Regions from separate parts of the Homo sapiens genome. Here region 1 is linked to region 2. The links are contacts of gene promoters, found by promoter capture Hi-C in blood cells and fetal thymus (Javierre and others, 2016). All regions are on one chromosome and are shown on one strand. The core of a region is centred on a gene start or on the middle of the fragment in contact, and the rest is flanking DNA. Distances in the headings are between cores, read along the strand shown. Region 1 has its middle 9.7 kb from the start of CYP2A13. Region 2 holds the start of CEACAM4 (CEA cell adhesion molecule 4).

Region 1 (6,144 bases), core at 3,599-6,098, 550 kb before region 2:
GTTTCAGGTCTTAGATTTAGGTCTTTAATCCATCTTGAGTTCATCTTTGTATATGGTGAGAAATACCAGTCCAGTTTCATTCTTCAGCAAATGATTATCCAATCTTCCCAGAAATATTTATTGAATAGGATGTCCTTTCCCCAGTGTATATTTTTGCTGACTTTGTCAAAGATTAGTTGGTTGTAGGTAGGTGGCTTTATTTTGGGTTTTCTATTCTGTTCCATTGATATATGTGTCTATTTTTATACCAGTACAATGCTGTTTTGGTTACTATAGGCTTGAAGTATAATTTGAAGTCAGGTAATGTAATGCCTCCAGCTTTGTTCTTTTTGCTTGGAATTGCTTAAACTATTTGGGCTCTTTTCTGATTCTATATGAATTTTAGGATTGTTTTTTCTAATTCTGTGAAAAACGACGGTGTTTTGATAGAGATTGCATTCAATCTATAGATTGCTTTGGACTGTATGTTCATGTTAATGATGCTGATTCCTCAAATCCATGAGCATGGGATATTTTTCCATTTGTTTATGTCATCTACAATTTCTTTCATTGGTGTTTTGTAGGTCTTCTTATAGAGATCTTTCACCTCCCTGGTTAAATATATTCTTATGTATTTTATTTTCTTTGTAGCTATTGCAAATGTATTGCCTCCTTGATTTGGTCCTTGGCTAGATCGTTACCGGTATGTGGAAATGCAACTGATTTTTGTACATTAATTTTGTATCCTAAAACTTTACTGAATTCATTTCTCAAATCTAAGAGTTGTTTTTAGAGTCCTTAGGGTTTTCTAGGCATAAGATCATATCATCAGCAAACAGGGATAATTTGACTTCCTCTTTTCTAATTTGGATGCCCTCCATTTGTGTCTCTTGCCTGACTGCTCTGGCTAGGACTTCCAGTACTCTGTTGAATAAGAGTGGTGAAAGTGGCATTCTTGTCTTCTTCTAGTTCTTAAAGAGAATGCTTTCATCTTTTCACCGTTAAATGTTATGTTTGCTGTGGGCTTGTCATATGTAGCCTTTATTATGTTGAGGTATGTTGCTTCTAGGCCTGGTTTGTTGAGGATTTTTATCATGAAGAAATGCTGATTTTTATTGAATACTTTTTCTGCACCTATTGAGATAATCATATGGCTTTTGTCCTTCATTTTGTTGATGGAATGTATCACGTTATGGATTTGCATATGTTGAACCATTCTTGGATCCCCAGGTTAAATCCGACCCAATCATGGTGTATGATCTTTTTGATGTGCTGTTGGATTTGATTTGCTAGTATTTTGCTGAGGCTTTTTGTATCTATGTGATTCAGGGATATTGATCTGTAGTTTTCTTTTTTGTTGTGTTCTTGTCTGATTTTGTTATCAGGATGATACTGGCCTCGTAGAATCAGTTAGGGAGAATTCCCTCCTCCTCAATTTTTTGGAATAGTTTTACAAGGATTGGTATTAGTTCTTCTTTGTATACTTGGTAGGATTCATCTGTGAATCTATCTGGTCCTGGAATTTATTTTCTTGAAAGACTTTTTTTTGAGACGGAGTTTCACTCTGTCACCCAGGCTGGAGTGCAGTGGCATGATCTCGATTCACTGCAACCTCTACCTCCTGGGTTCAAGCGATTCTGCTGCCTCAGCCTCCCAAGTAGCTGGGATTACAGGCGTGCACCACCACGCCCAGCTAATTTTTGTATTTTTAGTACAGATGGGGTTTCACTGTGTTGACCAGGCAGGTCTTGAACTCCTGACCTCAAGTGATCCGCACACCTCAGCTTCCCAAAGTGCTGCGATTACAGGCATGAGCCACCACACCCTGCCTTCTTGGGAGACTTTTAATTACTGATTCAATCTTGCTATTCATTATTGATCTGTTCAAGAGTTCTACTTCCTGGTTCAATCTTGATAGACTGTAACTGTCCAGAAATTTATTCATTTCCTCTAGGTTTTCTAGTTTGTGAGGCTATAGCTGTTCATAATAGTCTCTCATGATGTTTTGTGCTTCTATCCTATCAGTTGTAATGTCCCATTCTTCATTTCTGATTGTTTTTATTTTTATTTTCTCTTCTTTCCTGGGTTAGTCTAGCTAGTGGTTCATTAATTTTAACTTTTTGAAGATCCAACTTTTGTTTTGTTGATCTTTTTTATTGTTTTCGTGGTTTCTATTTCATTTAGTTCTGCTCTGATCTTTGTTATTTCTTTGGCTAACTTTGGGTTTGATTTGTTCTTTTTCCAGTTCCTTGAGGTGTGACATTGGTCGATAATTTGTGATCTTTCTACTGTTTTTTGAGATGGAGTCTCACTCTGTCACCCAGGCAGGAGTGCAGTGGCGCAAACTCGGCTCACTGCAACCTCTGCCTCCCAGGTTCAAGTCATTCTCCCACCTCAGCCTCCCGAGTAGCTGAGATTACAGGCATGCACCAACATGCCTTGTTAATTTTTGTATTTTTTAGTAGAGACAGGGTTTCTTCATACTGGCCAGACTGGTCTCGAACTCCCGACCTCAAGTGATCCACCGCCTCAAGTGCTGGGATTACAGCTGTGAGCCACCATGCCTGGCCCTTTCTACTTTTTTGATGTAGGCATTCAGTGCTATAAACTTCCCTATTAGTACTGCTTTTGCTGTATCCCACAGACTTTTGTGTTGTGTTTTCATTTTTATTCATTTCAAACTTTTTTTAAATTTCCAGCTTAATTTCTTTGCTGACCTGGTGATCTTTCAAGAGCATGCTGTTTAATGCCCATGTATTTATACCATTTCCAAAGTTCCTCCTAGTATTGATGGAATGGAATCCTTTTCTAGCTTTATCCACTGTGGTCTGAGATGATACTTGATATAATTTTGATTTTTAGAAAATTTGTTAAGGTATGTTTCATGGCTTAATATATGGTCTATCTTGGAGAATATATCATGTGCTGATGAAAAGAGTGTATATTCTGTAGTTGTTGGGTAAAATGTTTTATAAGTGTCTGTTGAGTCCATTGGGTTAAAGTCCAATTTAAGTCTGTATTTGTCCATTTTTGCATCACTATAAAGGAACACCCAAGCCTCGGTAATTTATAAAGAAAAGTGGTTTAATCAGCTCACAGTTCTGCAGGCAGAACATGAAGCATGGCACTGGCATCTGCTACTGATAAGGGTCTCAGGAAGCTTACAATCATGGTGGAAGGCAATGGAGGAGCCAGTGTATCACACTGGCAAGAGATGGAAGGGGGTGGTCCCAGGCTCTTTTAAACAACCAGATCTCATTTAAACTGAGTGAGAACCCACTCATCACCAAGGGGATGGCACTAAGCCATTCATGAGGGATCTGCCCCTATGATCTGATACCTCCCTCTAGGCCCTACCTCCAACATAGGGGATCACATGTCCACATAAGATATGGAGGGGACACACATCCAAAGCATATGAAAGGCTAATGTTTCTTTGCTAATTTTGTCTCTCAATGATCTGTTTAGTGTATGAGTGGGATATTGAAGCTCCCCACTGTTATTGTATTCTGTATATCTCATTCTTTAGGTCTAGTTGTATTTGTTTGTAAATTTAGGGGTTGTGATGTTCGGTGCGTATATATTCAGCACTGTTATATTCTCTTGCTAAATTGATCCCTTTATCATTATATAATGACCTTCTTTGTTTTGTTTTTATTTTTAATGTTTTTTATTTAAAATCTGTTTTAACTGGTATAAGATATAGCTATTCCTGCTTGTTTGGTTTTTGTTTGCATGGAATAGCTTTTTCCATCTATGTACTTTCAGTCTATATGTGTCTTTACAGGTAAAGTGAGTTTCTTATAGGCAGCATATAGTTGCATCATGGTTTGTGTGTGTGTGTGTGTTTGTTTGTTTGTTTTGAGATGAGTTTTGCTCTTGTTGCCCAGGCTGGAGTAGTGCAATGGCATGATCTCGACTCACTGCAACCTCTGCCTCCTGGGTTCAAGCAATTCTCCTGCCTCAGCCTCCCAGGTAGCTGGGATTACAGGCATATGCCATCACACCCAGCTAATTTTTGTATTTTTAGTAGAGACAGGGTTTCTCCATGTTGGTCAGGCTGGTCTCAAGCTCCCAACCTCAGGTGATCCACTCACCTTGGCCTCCCAAAGTGCTGGGCATCATGTTGTTTAAAGTATTCCGCCAATACATATCTTGTAAGTGAAGCATTTAATCCATTTATTCAAGGTTAATATTGATATGCAAGGCTTTATTCTTGTCATATTGTTAATTGTTTTTAAGTTGTTTTATGTGATAAATTATTTGTTTCTTTCTTTTTCTCTTTTTGTCATTGTGGTTTGATGAGATTCTCCCATGTTGCCATTTGATTCTTTTCTCTTCCTCATGTATGAGGTTGTTTTTATAAGAAATGTGAGTTTTATTTTTCTGTGTGTTTTCATGACGCTGAGTGTTGACCTTTCATTTCCATATTTAAGACCCATTTGAGCATCTCCCATAGGAACAGGCTAGTGTTGACAAGTTTACTCACCATTTGCTTCTCTAGAAAAGATTTTATTTCTCCTTCATTTATGAAGCTTATTCTGCCAGAACATAAAATTTTTGGCTGACAGTACTTTTCTTTCAGCAGTTGGAAATGCCATTCTCTTCTTTTCTAGCCTGTAAGGTTTCCACTGAAAAGTCTGCTGTTAGTCTGATGAGTTTTCTTAATAGGTAACTAGATGCTTTTCTCTTGCTAATTTTAAAATTCTTTCTTTCTTCTTGACTTTAGACTTTCTAAATGTACTATTATGTGAAGTTCTTTTTGCAATGTATTTGCTGGGGCTCTGTAGCTGGATGTCTAACTCTCTTGCTAGATGTGGAAGTTTTCATCAATTACTTCCTAAAAATAGGTGTTCTAATTTTTTAAAATCTCTCTTCCCCCTTGGAAATACCAAAAATGCATAAGTTTGGTCACACTATGTAGTCCCAGATATCTCAAAGTCTTTGATGATTCTTTTTTATTTATTTTTCTTTATTTTGTCAGACAGGACATTTCAAAAGACCTGTCTTCAAGTTCTTAGATTCTTTTTTTTTCTTCTAATTTTAGAGATAGGGTTTCACTATGTTGCCCAAACTGGCCTTGAACTCTGACCTCAAGGAATCCACCTACCTTGGTCTTCCAAAGTGCTGGGATTACAGGCATGAGCCACTGCACCCAGCCATGTTCTGAGGTTCTTTCTTCTGCTTGGTCCAGTCTACTATTGAAGCTTTTGAATATATTCTGTATTCCCTTCATTGAATTTTTTTAGTTCAAGAGTTTCTGCTTGTTTTTTTTTTTAAGTTATTTATCTAGGTAAATTTCTCATTCATTTCCTGGACTGATTTTCTAATTCTTTGTATTGATTTTCAAATTTCTCTTGCATCTTGTAGGGCTTTATAAAATCAGTATTTTGAATTCTTTATCTGGCATATTGAGGGATTCTTTTTGATTGGGATCTGTTGCTGGACAATTGTGGTCCTTTGATGATGTCACATTTTTCTCCTTTTTCATGTTTCCTGTGTCCTTTCATTGATATCTGCAAATCTTGTGTAGCAGTAGCTTGTTCAAGTTTTTTTAATTGCCCTGTAGGAGAAAATTTTTTTCCTGAAAAATGTATGCATGTTGTTAGTTGAGTAGGATACTTTGGCTTTGATTCTGGGTGCCTATGGTAGTGTGATCTTAGTATGACTTCATAGGCAGTACCCAGGGTCACTGGTATCTTTGATTTCCTTGGTAGCTTAGAGTACAGTTATTACTTGAGATCGAGGAGAAATTTAGCTGGGTGGTGGATGCCAACTGAGCCCATCTTTGGGCCCTGGTGGTGGCAGCAGCTTGGAGAGTATGGCTGAGCCCCAGAGCAGTCTACTGGCTTTGGTATTAGTGAGTCCTGGGAGGCTGATTCTTGAGCTTCCTAGTGGCTTGCTTAGAGGAGTCATGGGAGTTGGGGGACAGGGATGTGGGCAAGTTCTCAGGCCCCTGGGAAGCACAACCTGGTGTGATATGGGTGATGGCAGTAGTGGTGGTGGAGCAATCCACTAGGACCCAGGCAGTCCATGTTGGTGTTGCTGGTAGATGCAATGGGTTGGGTGGGCTACTCCCCAGTCCCACAGCATCCTGTAGCAGGGTAGTGGTATTGACCTAAGTGTGCTTAGGAGAGCTTGTTCTCCCCTGTGCCTCCCCCATCT
Region 2 (6,220 bases), core at 1-2,500:
CCAATAATAGGCTTGAATAGTTTCTGAAATATTGCAGGCCAGTAGAAGAACATCCTTTCCCTCTGCAGCACTGGACGGCAGGGCTTCAATAGTGAACTGGACAGTGGTGGGCGGGTGCCAGAAGGTTAAAAGTGAGGCTAGGAGGTGAAGACAGCATCAGTCAATACTGGGACCTATGGAGTGGGATGGAAAGATAAGGCCCTGGGTCCTCAGCAGGTCTCCTCATCCCTCAGCCTTGGAGTGTGTGTGTGTGTGTGTGTGTGTGTGTGTGTGTGTGTGTGTGTGTGTGTGTGTGTGTGTGTCCCTGGGTCAGCAGCATGACCCCCATTCCTTCAACAGCTTGGACCTTGGCATTTCCCTGGTGGAATCTTCTTCCCCAGGGGTCTGCACGGCTCCCTCCCCACTGCCCTCAGATCCTGCTCACATCAGGGTGTTTTTGGGAGACCCCTCCCCTGACACCTCCTCTAGAGACCCTGGGTCTTCCCTTTCTGACCTTTCCCAGCTCTGTTCCCTCCAGGGCTCTTGTCAGCACCTGACCTCACATTCTAGATCTCTTTAGGTGTTTGTCTTCCTCCCCATGAGAGCGTGAGCTCTGTGAGGGCGGGGACTTGTGTGATCTTGGTTGCACCCCAGTGCCTGGCACAGGCTGCAGACTCCTGTAGATGAGTTCATGAGCATTCTCAGGGCCTCCAAGTCCTGAGGTTTATTTCCCAGTGTCTGAGGTTGTTGGCTAAGAGCAGTGTTTTATGCCCTGGTTATGTTTTTATTTGAAGTGTCATCTGGTATAGTTATTATCATTTTTCAAAATGTAGTGGCCAGTGATGATTAACCAGGACGAGAGAACACTTGAGATTTTCCTGCCTTTTACCAATTCCAGTTCACTGAGATTTTCCTGTTGTGACCCCTGCCCCTCTCTGATGTTCTCTCCCTTATCCAGCCTCCAACAGAGGCCCTCAGTCCCCTCTCAGAGCCCCAGGAGACCCCAGCCAGAAGCCCTCTATCCCCTCCTACCCAAGAGACCCCAGTCAGTCTCTGTGCTCCCTCTTCCCACCACTCCCAGAGAGTCCTCCCCTCACCTGTGATCAGGAGCCCCTGCCAGGGCCTGTGCCCTCCACGGGGAGCGGCTGAGGGGGGGCCCATGGTCTCTGCTGCCTGCTTGTCCTCTGTGGAGAGGAGCTGGGCTCCAGGAACGCTCTTGTCAGAGCTGCTGTGACTGTCGGCTGTCGGGGCTGCTGACCTTCCTCCTTCTGTGCTGAGCCTCCTCCCGGGCAGAAGCACTTCCCAGGGCCAGGGGCAGAGGCGGGGCTCTTCCCAGGTCACCCCTCTGCCCCTCCCCTCTCATTTCTGCCTTTTTTGTCCCTCCTTCCCCTTTCTCTTCTGTGTACATTACAGTTTCCTAACCACACTTTGAGAAGCAGGGTTGGTGGAGTCCCCTGTCCCCAGAGAGGGTGACTTGTCACCCCTGCACTGACCCTTTGGGAATGTCACCACAAACAGAGGTACTCTGGGGTCTCCCAAACTTGGGGAACTGTTTCCTTTTGTGACACAGAGACCCAGCTGGGCCCCCAGGTCTCCTCATGCTCCCCAATACTCAGGGAGTGTGAGATGATACCCAGCAGGAAGGTGACAGAGGTGGCTCTGTGGGATAGAAAATGGGGGGCGACTACGGGGGGGACCAGTCCTCTCTCTCCAGTGTCACCAGCCTTGCCTCTGACCCAGGGACAGAGATCCAGGCCTGGGGGTCTCAGGAGGATCCCCAGCTCCTGGATGTGGAGGGAGGTGTCCTGCATGTCCTGGGAAGAGAGGACTGTGGTGGAGGGAGGTGGGTGGCTCTGGGTTCTGCTGTCCTTGAGGAGGGATTCAGGGAGATCCTCCCTCTCCGTTTCTGTTGGCTGAGCTGTGGCTTAGGGCCTGTGCATGTTCTCCCTTACCATCCCGGGTGGCCTCTGTCCTCTGTGAAGGTGATTGTCCTGTTGTCACTGTACCTTCCCCATGCATGATACCAGGAGAAAGTGGAGAACTGAGCAGAGAATCCTGGCAGAGCAGGATCCTCAGAGGCTCCAGGAAGGATCAGGAGAGACAGAGCAGGCACATGGGAGGGACTGGAAGGGCCTGCTGGAGCAAAGTATGGAAACCAGGCTTCACCTCCACCTCCTTAGCAAAGCCAGATTCCTGTCCAGGGGAATCCATTTCCTGTGTTGTCTGCGTGCAATGTTGCCCCTGGAGAGCAAGAGGAACCCTGTGGTAAAAGTCAGGGGCTTCCCCAGGGATGCTGACCAGGGTCCACGTGGTATGAGTTGGCCCTGGCCCCTGGGCAGAGGTGGGCTCTGACCTCCAGACTGCAGGGTCAGGTCATCCTTGGTCCTGTTCACTGTGGGTCCCCAGGATGTCCAACTCCATGCAGTGCAGGATGAGCTCAGGGAGAGGACGAGAGTTGTCCAGAGCACTCCTGGTCCTGATTTGGGAGAACTGTCCTGCAGGCGGATGGGCTGCCTCAGAAAGAGCCATCCGTCCCCAAGGTTTCAAAAGAAGGGCCCAGGGAGGTGTCTCTGGGGGTTTAGAGAGAGGGCACTGGCCTGGGAGGTGGTCCTCGGTGTGTTCTGTGTTCCTCCATCACAACACTGGGAGTTCCGCCTCCAGGTCATCTGTGTCCCTGTCTGTCACCTGCCCCAGGCCTCTCCACAGGGCCCAGGAGCTGGGGCAGCTCCTACCTGCAGGCTGCAAGGGATACCTGGTTCCTGTATTAGAGCAGGGGAGGCCCCGTGACCCTCAGTCCCTCTGAGATGGAAACAAAGGCAGATCCTGGGTTATCCTGTCCCCTCCTGCAGGAGAAGTTCCCCTGGATCCCCTGGTGAAATGTCTGCAGGGACCATAGGCAGATGTCCCAAATACTGGGGATCTCGAGGCTGGGGAATCACTCCCTGACTTTCTTGTGGTCATTCTGCCCTGGTGGAAGATCCACCTGGGATCGAATATCCGGAGTTTGTGTCAGTTTTGGTGTGTTTGTGAGAAAGACATATGTTAGAGCCTGGAGGGAATGTCAGTGAATGATGTCAGGGAATGAATTGGGTTTGCCCCTCACTGTTAGAAAGACCCTGAATTCCCTCCCGATGCTACTAGGGTAAAAGCCATGTTCTTATGCTCATTTCTCTAAGGAAATGCAAATAGAGTTTATTAAGGCGTTTCTGGCCAACTAAGGTGGATTTTGTCATGTAGACACAATATAGACCATAATACATGTACATATGCAAAAACACACCTAAACACATATCCACAAACAAATAAAAATCTTACAGCTTTCATTTTAGAATTTTAGTGATGAGATAGTAATACAAACTCACTAGTTGATTAAAGTCAACTGGATCCAATTGTATTTCTGACAAATTGGAATCGTTAACATGGATAAACTTTATTTGCCCCTATAGGTAATATAATGAAGGCTGGGGGAAATATTTTGGGTAAAGCAGTTTCTAATGGCAGTGTAACTTATAAACAAATAAACAAATGAAACCTCTACAGTTTCAGCATCTTTTTTTTTTCTGTTTCACATGAGTTTAGGATTAAATTTTCAATTGCTTACACTTTAGCTAGAACTGGCTGAATTGTATAAGAAAAAAAAATCTCCAACTAGCCTTAAACTAGATTTTTTGTGTGGGTTGGAGGGGGGCGGGTGGTGGTGATGTGGTTTGCTTGATTAACAAATGTGGATGAGGAAGGATTTTAGCTTTTTTTCCTGGCTTTTTCTTTTTTGCCTCTGCATGGCAAAAGAAGAAAAAAGTTTATGTCGGACAGAGACACCTTAAATTATTGCTCTGAGTTCAAGATTTTGACCTGTATGATCTGAGAGCCTAACTTTTATAACCATGTATTTTTTTAATTATTGATTTTTAATTGTGCTCCATTATAAGCAATTATTAGTTAGACAAACTTAAATTTACATTTCCTAAAGGTGTCTAAGTTGTTTCTTATCATGGAGTTGTTTAATTTGTAAAGCCATTAATTTTAAAGCCCTTCAAGATTTCTTTTTTAAAACTCTGGGCTAGAATGCCATAAGCAGTGAGTTTTATCTCAACACCAGTAGAAAAGTCAGCAGATTCAAAGTAGGTAGAGAAAAAAAAATAGAGAATTTAGAAGACTCTACATTTCCACCCTATAGATGCAGGGCTTTTTAAAACAGGTTGAATGATGATCATTGAGTACTGAATTTTCCTTGATGTAATTTTGCTCATAAACTTTAAAATGTGCACAAGAAAGAACCATAAAATGTAGCCAGCTGGAGCCCCAGAAAACCTGGCATGCCTTAATGCTTGAGAGCCCCATTCCATTTCTTATTAATCTCTTGAAAGTGAAGAAAATTTTACAAATCCTGCCAGAGAATGTCAGGCATTTGTACCAGTGTTTTAGATGGTGGCAACCACGCTAGTGGCTGTTAATTAGCCATTTTGTGCCCGTCATTTAGAATGTCTATTTTTTTGTGTTCTGGGATGATTTTCAGAAGCAAGCAAGGGGAAAAGAGTCAAACCAAATAAAAAGAAATCCAGATAAGAGCATTCACAAGAATTTTAACCCAGGCATGCAGATTTTTAAAGTATTTAAATTAGGCACACAGGCCAAAATGGAAGTAAATTCACCAGAATAGACTTGCCTCACAGGCAGAATGTAAATTTTGTAGAATCCAGAGTACGTGATCTAGAAAGATATACGCCTTTCTCTCAGAAAGGACTTGCTAGAAAAGACAAAAAGTTTTTTTTTTTTTTATCATCCCAGGAGAAATGTATGGTCTTTTACTAAGGCAGCCTTATCCAAATCAGATTCCAAATAAAGTCAAGAGCTTCTACCAAAAAGAGGCTCTGCTTGAGCAAAGACTTGTCAGGGCAGGAAAGGTGAGTGTGGAAGCAGAGAGCTCAAACTTCTCAAGTGAGTAGTGCACACTGGTTCAAAGATCACAGATTTCTTCTGATAGTGATCTTTCCCAGATCCCACTTCTGACACCATATATGGTAACAAACAGAGTGAGGCTTTCTATGAGAAACTGATGTTTATTTGGGAGTAGCACATTTCAATGGAAATGCATGTGCCATAGTAAAATGATCTACATATTCGAGTTTTTAAAGGAAAAAATTGGGATTATTATCTAGTCATTTTGAAAAAAAAAAAAAAAAACTAGCTACAAAGATCAATAGCCAGAATGATGCCACTGTGAGGTTCTATAGGCAGTTGCTGGGCAGATGTCCTTGCAGAAGTAGTTTTCATATAAGGTTGTGATGGCCTTTGTATAAACTTGTGGCTTTTGCAGAGTCTTTTGTGATAGTTTTGTTATCAGGCATGAGGATCCTCTCTTCATGGTCTTCTCTGGCTCTATTTGTCAGAGTTTTTTTTCACACTAGTGACTCATTTTGACTCTGACAACTTTCACATCTGTTAATACTTAAAGAATAAATAAAATTAAAAAGACTGAAGTCTAGTAGAAAAGTAGGCAAATATATAAACAGTTTACAGAAGAAAAAACAATTTGAATGATTCGTAGACATATGAACAAAATACCCGCACACATGCAGGAGAAACGGACATTGATATTATCCTGGAAAGGTGAGGATCATAATATGGCCCAGTGGTTTTAAATGCTGAAAAATTCCATTTGATAACACAACGTGTGGGAAGAACTTTGGTAAAAATTGTACTTCCTAACTTTGTTGGGTGACATGAAAATTTGTACCAACTGTGTGGCATCAAATTTGTCAACACTTATCAAAATTTAACATATGCATTCTCTTTGCCTCCCAAACTGCACTGCAAGGAATTTATCACACACTCATGAAAAATGACACCTAATCACGGTTTCTCATGGCAGTGATGGCTTAACAGCAAAATACTGAAAACAACCTACATTTACATTAGCATAGTTAAACAGGTTATATACATTTACACAATGGAATATGAGGCAGATATGTAACCAACAGGGAATTGTTTTAGCCACTGATGCGGAAACTCCTCCGTAGTGTTTTTAAATTATATGGCATAAACAACATATAGCCTATGTGTGGTTTTCACATTGAATGTGATCTTAATTTTTTTTTTTTTTTTGAGACAGGGTCTCATCTTGTTCCCAGGCTGGAGTGCAGTGGCATGATCTTGGCTCACTGCAGCCTCAATCTCCCAGGCTCAAGTGATCCTCCTGCCTCAGCCCCCGCCCCCCAAGTAGCTGGGACTACAGGCATGT

The links. Contacts are between HindIII fragments. The CHiCAGO score rates a contact against its expected background, and 5 or more counts as called.
Region 1: a fragment that was not itself captured here is called in contact with the fragment with the promoter of CEACAM4 in region 2 in 1 of 17 cell types (naive B cells); the score reaches 5.7 in naive B cells.

The regions. Positions count from the first base shown.
Region 1 is chr19:41,075,648-41,081,791 of GRCh38, forward strand. No RefSeq gene overlaps it. Among named protein-coding and RNA genes, the nearest start is that of CYP2A13, 9.7 kb to the right of the region's middle. The HindIII fragment of the contact is 672 bases long and covers 4,513-5,184 here.
Region 2 is chr19:41,625,824-41,632,043 of GRCh38, forward strand. It overlaps CEACAM4 (CEA cell adhesion molecule 4), which reads right to left and starts at 1,251. Exons shown (of 7, transcript NM_001817.4): 1 at 1,077-1,251; 2 at 1-137. The coding sequence starts at 1,140. The HindIII fragment of the contact is 7,709 bases long and covers 1-6,220 here.